Linked DNA regions of Homo sapiens: region 1 is linked to region 2. Evidence: promoter capture Hi-C in 16 types of primary human blood cells and fetal thymus (Javierre and others, 2016). All regions are on one chromosome and are shown on one strand. Each heading gives the region's core, a stretch centred on a gene start or on the middle of the fragment in contact. The rest is flanking DNA. Distances are from core to core; before and after follow the strand shown.

What was found. Contacts are between HindIII fragments. The CHiCAGO score rates a contact against its expected background, and 5 or more counts as called.
Region 1: a fragment that was not itself captured here is called in contact with the fragment with the promoter of ACSS1 in region 2 in 2 of 17 cell types (total B cells and naive B cells); the score reaches 9.4 in total B cells.

What each region holds. Positions count from the first base shown.
Region 1 is chr20:25,688,045-25,692,187 of GRCh38, forward strand. All of the region lies in intron 1 of ZNF337 (zinc finger protein 337), which reads right to left. Among named protein-coding and RNA genes, the nearest start is that of ZNF337, 6.7 kb to the right of the region's middle. The HindIII fragment of the contact is 187 bases long and covers 2,781-2,967 here.
Region 2 is chr20:25,055,481-25,059,790 of GRCh38, forward strand. ACSS1 (acyl-CoA synthetase short chain family member 1) reads right to left here and starts at 2,659. Exons shown (of 14, transcript NM_032501.4): 1 at 2,289-2,659. The coding sequence starts at 2,622. RefSeq lists enhancers at 1,755-1,884, 2,535-3,140 and silencers at 1,985-2,254, 2,385-2,914. The HindIII fragment of the contact is 7,356 bases long and covers 264-4,310 here.

The DNA.
Region 1 (4,143 bases), core at 1,624-4,123, 630 kb after region 2:
GCAGTTGAAAGGTGATTTAAAACATTTTTGTTATTTCTTTCTATATACTTACATAAATAGTTTACCTTTCATGTCCCATCTGTGCTATCTTTACCTATTCCAAAGTCACAAAGATATTCCCCTACATTTACTCTTAGAAGTTTAAATATGTTGTTTTTGATGGTAGTATAAATATGTATTTCATTTTTTAACTGTTTGCTGCTAGGTTACAGAAATACAAGTGCTTTTTAAAAATACTGACCTTATTTTCTGAAGTTCCTAAACTGTGTGTTACTAGTATCTAGTTGTTTAACTATTCTTCCATGTACATACTCACATCTTCTGTGAATAAAAAATTTTTTTTTCTGTTTCAACGTTTATGCCTTTTATTCCTTTTTAATACCTTAACAGGTTAGCTAGTTATTCTAGGATAATGCTAAATAAGAGTGATAAGAATCAACATTAATGCTTGTTCCTGATCTTAGTGTGAACACACTTCACCATTAAATATGATGATTGCAGCCAGGCTGTCACACATAACCTTTGTTTCATTAAGGGAAATTCTTTCTATTCCTCATTTACTGAGAATTTTTACCCTGAATAGGTGTGAAATGTTATCAAGTATTTTTCTGCATTAAGATAGTAATGTAGGTTTTTCTCTTTTGCTCCCTGAAAGCAGTGAAAGGAAAATAAAAACGTTGGAACCCAAACCACTCTGCCAAAAGAAAAATATTAAGCTGAAAGCTGATTCATCCAAGAAGCTACCTTTCCTTTTGTTCCTAAGCGGAGAACTACAGATAGGTTAAGTAAGGGTAAGTATCTCTGCCGGGCGCGGTGGCTCACGCCTGTAATCCTAGCACTTTGGGAGGCTGAGGCGGGCCTCCTCCTCGTGGTCAGGAGATTGAGACCGTCCTGGCTAACACCGTGAAACCCGTCTCTACTGAAAATACAAAAAAATACAAAAAATAGCCGGGAGTGGTGGCGGCGCCTGTAGTCCCAGCTACTCGGGAGGCTGAGGCAGGAGAATGGCGTGAACCCGGGAGGCAGAGCTTGCAGTGAGCCGAGATCGCGCCACTGCGCTCCAGCCTGAGCAAGAGTGAGACTCCGTCACAAAAAAAAAAAAAAAAAAAATTAGTCGGGTGTGGTGGCGAGCGCCTGTAGTCCCAGCTACTCAGGAGTCTGAGGCAGGAGAATGGTGTGAACGTGGGAGGCAGAGCTTGCAGTGAGCGGAGACCGTGCCACTGCACTCCAGCCTGGGCAACAGAGCAAGACTCCGCATCAAGAAAAAAAAAAAGTTAAATATCTCCACAGGTTGCTTACTCTATGTTCACTCTATCCTCGGTTTTTTGGGAACAAACTCTATTTGGCTAGAATATATCATCCTTTTCATGTATTGCTGGATACTACTTGTCCATATTTTGGTGAGAATTCTTGACTATTTTCCTCTGGAATGATTACATGTAAGGGCACATGAGAACTCTTGTTGAAATGTTCTGTATCTTGATTGAGGTGATAAGTGACCTGTGTATACTTTAAAGAGTCAAAACTCATTATACAGTTAAAAGCAGTGCTTCTTACGGTATGCAAGTTACACCTCAACACTGATTAAAAATCCTCTCAGAGATCAAGTATATATGGGTAAAATAACAAGACATCTGGATTTGTTTGAAATACTTTGGCACATAAACAGGGGGAAGGGATAAATCTAACAGAACTACCCATGGTTTTAAAATGATCAAATCTGGATGAAGGCAACATGGGGATTCCTATTACCATCTCCCAATTTTGCTACCCATTTGAGATTTTTCATAACACTAGTTTACAGAAAAAGCATTAATCATATTGCTAATTCTATGCTTACCAAAAAATTGGCTAAAATAATCTTATAGGAGCTAACTTCATTTGAAAATACTCAAAAGTCCCCAGCATTCAAGAAACTGCCCAATCAAGAAAAAGCCACATTAAAAACAGAAGGCAGCTGGCTGGGCACAGTGGCTTATTCCTGTAATCCCAGCACTTTGGGAGGCTGATGCATGTGGATCGCTTGATCCCAGGAGTTCGGGACCAGTTTGGGCAACATGGCAAAGGCTCATCTCTACAAAAAATATAAACATTAGCTGGATGTGGTGGCACGTGCCTGTAGTCCTAGCTACTCCTGGCTTGAGCCCAAGAGGTTGAGGCAGCAATGAGCCTTGAATATGCCACTCCACTCCAGCTTGGGCAACAGAGCAAGACATAGTCTCAAGAAAACAAAACAACAACAACAACAAAAACAAAACAGGAGACAGTCATATTTGCAGCCCAATACACCTTATTCCCAATGTTCTATCCTGTCCAAGTGTTGTCTAATGGAAAAATCTCATGGTGAACTTGCCTATAGATCCCTGGGGCAAAAAATTACAGGTGCAGAATACAACAGAGCTTCTAAAGCAGCATCTCAGTTTCCACTTCCTTCCCTCAAACCTGAGAAAGCACAGTAGACCTTTCTTACAAGGTTCTAAGCTGTTGGAGGCTGCCTGAGGGACTGCTCTGTTTTGAGGATCTCACACCTTAGGGAAGAAAAGCACTGGATCATGCTTGGCAAAGATGCAGACAGATTGAAGAGCAGATGCCTGGGGCAAGATATTATGGGTGGAGACATACAACAGACCATCAAAGGCCCAGAGGAGAGACTCTTGGGACAAATAAATATTTAAAAGCAGTTGCCTATGAGAAAATGGAAAAAGCCACAAGCAAAGGTAAGATCCATGCTCCAAAAAGGCCTGAGAAAATCTTAAACCTTCTCCTCAGATTGATCCCAAAGCTTAGAACGAATACCAAGATAATAGCAAAAATCCTCCCTGGAAAAGAGTCAGTCTGCAAAAACCGGAAAAGGAGGTTGTTTTTTCCACAATGCCTAATTTCTAACAACAACAACAAAAACTCAGAAAACATGGCCCAATAAGTGGAAGAAAATAAAGTGACGGAAACCTTCCCCGGAGAAACATAAGCTTCAGGCAAACTAGACAGATTTTAGACTGTCTAAAATATTCTCAAAAACTCATGAAACACGGGTAGAGAAAAGGAAATCAGGAAAATATATATGAACAAAATACCAACAGAGATTACAAAAAGGAAGCAAACAAAAATTCTGGACCCGAAAACACAGTAATTGAAAAATTCAGTAGAGGGATTTAACGGCAGATGAGCAGGCAGAAGAAATAATCAGTAAACATAAAGAGAAGAATTTGAAATTTCAGAGACAGAGAAGCAGAAGAGAAAAGAATGAAATAAACAGAGCCAAAAGAGTTATAAGGTGCCATTAACTGGACATATATATGGGTGTCTAGAAGATGCTGATAGATTACTGAAGAAATAATGGCCAAAACTTCAAAATTTGAAGACAGACATGAATCTACAAGGCCAGCACACTCAACAAACTCCAAGAATAAATTCAAGGAGGTCCACACCCAAACACACTTCTCAACTATACTTACATGAAACCAGCTTCAGGAACACAGGACTGGCAGGGGGAGAGAAGTTAAGAATAGTGGCATCGTGCCTCTCTCAGGGAAAAGCTGTCACCATAGACTGAGAACTGGAGAGGGACAGGGTTCCATCTTGTGATTTTCACAGCCCACAGTGGAGTTTCTCTCAGAGTGGACCAAAATGGGGGTGGGGAGGGTAGCAGTTTGTGTGTCAAATGTTACAGACTCTCACTGTTCTCAGAAAGGCTCAGTTGATTTTTCTGAATAAATGTTTCTCTAAATTCCTGAGTGGTCTTAAGACAAATTCCGTGTAGTTTAAATGGTTGTTTTTGGTTTTCTAAATTACCAGTTATGGTGTTTTACTGGAGATACAGTCCACGTCGCTCCTCACTGCCATTCCAGAATCCACATTTCTGATTATAGTTGGGACCAGAACTAGGGCCAGGCAATTAGGTAAGTGGTGTGATCATTATTTGTCCTTATGGGTAGAAGTAGAATTAGGAGATGAGCCTGGCAGGCAGAAGGAAGGAAGGGAAGGAAAAAGCTATGGCAAGGAAAGAATGAACAAGCCTCAGCACCTAAGCAAGCAAATGGGAAGTTTGCCAAGGTAGGGAAACTTCCTTTACCTAGATCACAACGAGAGAAGTAAAACAGACAAGGGGCACTACTGAGCTGGTTTCTAGATATTTCTTCTCTC
Region 2 (4,310 bases), core at 1,409-3,908:
TCCCAATTCTGTTTTAGAAGTGCCTTCATCTGCCCTGGTTTGAGGCGTACAGGCCAGTGGTTCTCAAGCCCGAGTGTCCTCTGGAGCATCTGAAGGGCTCGTTATAAACACAGGTGTCAGGTCCCATCCCAGGGTTTCTGATTCCAGATGTCCAGGATGGGCTCCAGAATTTGTATTTCTCAAAAGTTCTCAGGTAATGCTGATGCTGCAGGTCTGAAGACCATGCGTTGAGAACCACTGGTATTCTTGAGGGGGTGAGGTGAAGCTTTCTTCAAGAGTGATATTCCTTTGGAACAAGCCATCTGACTTTATCACACACAGCTGACAGATCAGACCAAAGTGTTCTCATCCATCCCACGACTTTCTAGATGCTCCCAGAAGAGTCATGGCCTGGCCTGGCCCTTTTTCATACTGTCTTCTCTATGGTTTGCAGACACCGGCAAAGGAAAGAGATATTGCTGACCCATGAACAGGAGGGCACGCACATCCCAGGGGAGAAAGCTGCTGAAAAGCTGTTTTTCAAGTTAGTTTTCTGAAGCTCAATTTCTGGCTAACGTAGCCATAAAGGCCATATTATCAGAAGAAATAAGTGAAGGAAAAGGAGACAGAAGAATGCTTGCTGACCACACCCTGATCCTGACCGAGCGAGGTTCAGAAGGTCCTTGCTGTTGGCCCCAGGAGGTCCGCCCCACTGTCTTATCTGAGTGGGGCTGCAAGTGTGCACAGGCCAACTGTGAATGTTCCCCATGACCTTGGCCTCACAAGTCCAGAGCAGGTCACTTTCCACCTCTGTCCTTGGGCAAGCTGCTCTAGTCTCCTTCAAGGGCACATTGCCCCAACTCTGCAAACCAAAGGGTTTGGTTTTTTTCCCACTAGTTCAAGGGCACTTGCTGCTGACTCAATGTTAAAGAAAACACTTATCTAGTAAGTGACTCATTTTAATTAAACCAGCAAAGTAATATACAATTTCGGGGAGTGGGGGAGGTCCAAAGTTCCTTCCAATTTCTTTGAAAAATAACTGCAAGACACTATCTATAATTGTATGACTATTTCTGAAGTTATCTAAAATCGCTACTGCTTATGGGTCACCAGTAAGCGCTGGGTCTGCTGCACACCTTGCAGCACTCAGCCTAACCTCTGAGCATGACTGCCCCCATCCTCACAATGAGGAGACTGAGGGCTGGGGGGGCAGAACAACAAGGACAACTGAGGGAGGAGTTGGAGAAAATGGGGCCCTGGTGACCCTGCCATAAAGACCCGCAGGTCCTTTCTTAAACACTCCCAAATCCAGCAAGCTGGTTATGACCACCCTTCTGGTCTGCATCCCTCTGATCAACACCGTGTCTGCCAGCCCCTCCCCGCAGGCCCCACACCCAGGCCCACCCTGCATCCGGAGCCCACCTCGCACTTGGCACCCACCCTGCGTGGCCAGCCCTGCCTGCAGTTCAGGGCCTCCCCCTCGGTGCCCAGTCAGCGCCTTAGGTGGGGGCGAGGGTGCTGTGTACGACCCCCAGCCCCAAATCTTAGCAGAGCAGCAGGGCCTCTGCTCAGCAAGTTCCAAACAACTGACCACCAGTCAACTGTTTGGGGCCGACGTCAGACCCCGCGGGTCCAAAGCAGGCCCCAGGTCGCTGGGGTGCAGTTCTCTGAGGCCGAGAACGAGAACGGGGAGGCCGCCGTTACTTCCTTCCCGTCCACAGGCCCCAGGCCCCAGGCCCGCAGCGAAGAAATAACTGGTTCCAGCTGCCACGCCGAGTTTCCTCCTCCCCAGGTCGCCCGCCACAGCTCTGTTTGTTTACGTGGGCAGGGCTTGTCCCCAGGCTGATCCCCGGGCACCGCAGCCCGCAGTGACAACCGCCACCGCTTTGTTTTTCCCTCCACCCCGGTATGGGAACGGGAAAGTCCCGACTCCGGGGCGCTCGGGTGTAGCCCGCGGCTCCCCGCCGGCTCTTGCTCAGCGGCGCTATGCACCCGGTAACGCAACTCTGGAGTCCGCCGAGCGAGGAGCCGCGCCGAGCAAGGCCAGCAGCGGGGCGTCCCAAGCGGCCGCCGGGTCCCCGCGGGCGCCGGCCCGAGCTGGGCACGTGGATCTGGGGCCCGATGGGATGAGGGACGGGGTGACGTGGAGCCACTGCTTAGAGCGGGCGGGGCGGACGGAATACCGGAGGAGGGGCCCCTGCAGGGCTGCGATCCGCGCTGCCCGGGGACGGCTGCCGCTGGCGAGAGGCTCCGAGTCCCCTCGGGACCCAAGAGTTGGGGGCGTCCTGGGTCTCCCGAAGCCCACTCACCAGAGACATTTAACTGGCCTCCCAGGAACCAGCCGATCTTGCCAGTGCTGAAGTCGCAGTCCCAGACGGTGTGGTAGGGGGTGTCCCACACGAGAGTGTCCCGCGCCAGAGGCCCCCAGAAGGCGGCCGGCTCCCGGGCTGCCTGTGCACTCAGCGCGGGATACGAGCCTGGCTGTGCTGCTGCTGCTGCAACTGCGGGAGCGCTGCCCGAGGGTCCCGAGGCCGCCCTGCGCGGCGCGCTCACCCCGCACGGCGGCCGCGCGGGCTGCCCCGAGAGCCCTCGCAGGCTGCCCAGCAGCCTCCCGACGCCGCGGCCCAGGGTGCGCGCCGCCATCTAGGCAGGCTACCTGAGCTCTCTGTGCTCCCAGAGTGGGTGCCTCACGCCCGGGGCGCCCCGTGGAGTCTCCGCGGGCCCCGCCCCTGCTCCGCCCTTCCGCCACCATCCATTCCTCCAGGGCCCCCTCCCGGAGCCCGCCCGGGTCCCACCCCTTCTTCTGCTGCCCGGGAGAGGGGGGGCCGCTTAGGAAGAGGGGAGCAGCGTGGGGAAGGGGTGCAGGGGAGCGCGGGGCGGAGCAGGGTCCCAGGCCCTGGCCCAGGCGCTGCGCTCCGGTGAGTCTGCGGTCCCACCCGGATGTTCCTCGAGTCGGCCTGTTTTGGTTTCAGTTTGCACGCTCTCCTGCAAGCCCCGACAGCTTCTTCGAGCTGCCAGAGGCACGTGCGGCCCAGGACCCCAGGACGCAGGCTCAGGGCCTGGGGCGAGGGGACCCTCTGGGATGGGGAGGAGCCGGGAGGGAGCCGGCACCAACGTTAAGGGGGCTGGTGCACCCAAGCGCACTGGTGGGTCCCAAGACAATAGGTCGGTCAGTTCCGCATCTCAGAGGCTGAAGCCAAGGTTTTCATGCCTTTGTGCGCCCCTGAGAGTGAACCCCACCCCTGGAGTCTCAGCAGCACGCGAAAGGGGCTGGCGCCTTTCTAGGCTCCCGCCTAGAAGCCAGGAGGCTGCGCAAGCCTGAGTCCGTGTTCTGGGTCCCATGCTCCAGCCCCCCAGCTGCCGGCCTCCGTCCTGGCGGGGGTCACGTCCTGCTGGGGGTCGGTGGTGGGTGATATGGGGCGATGAGGACTTTCTCCAGTTGCTGCAGCATCTGTAGCCTGAGTTCAAACTCTGTGACCTTGAGCAAGTTCCTTAACTTCTCGGTGCCTCGTTTTCCTTTTGGGGAAGACGGAAGTAATGTCTCCCTGGGGGGCGGGGACGGCGGGGGTGGGCAGCTGCAGTAAGGAATACATTGGACAATGTCTGTCAAGCGTCTACCCTTGCGTGGCCCCATAGTAAGCTCAGTAGTGGGGATGATGTTTTTGCAGCTGTGGAGCCAGGAAGGACAGAAGGAAACGTATAAAACTGGTCTCCACCGAGTTCTTAAATATTCTGACACCCAAGAAGTAAATTCATAACAAACGGGTAAACACAGGGAAGAGAGATTTTGGAAAACTGGTTTATTGAGTTCTCTGTGATGGGAAAGTTTCTTTCCCTTGAGCTGTAGGGCTTGCAGAGGGGAGGAGCCTGCCATTGGAGGAGCCTCTGCGTGGGCTAGCCACCAGCCCCTGCTGGGGAATGCTGCTGTCTGCCAGAGAAGACAGGAGTGTACCTAGAGCTGGAGAATCAGTGACATCTACTAGCATAACACATGCCCTGCACAGTGCTAGCGCTTGACCTGCATTTTCTCCTTTATTTATTTATGATACTTTTTTAGAGATAGGGCCTGTAGCCCAGGCTGGAGTGCAATGGTTCCCATCACAGCTCACTACAGCCTGGAACTCCTGAGCTCAAGCGATCCTCCTGACTCGGCCTCCTGAGTATCTGGAACTACAAGCGTGTGCCACGGCACCCGACTAGTCTACTTAATTTGAAACTTATCTAGTGCTGTCCATTCCCACCAACTGTCAAACTCCAGGTGGAAAAAATGAGGAAACTGAGCCCAAATAAATAAAAGGACTTACTAAAGAGCATGCAGCTGGCTAAGGGAA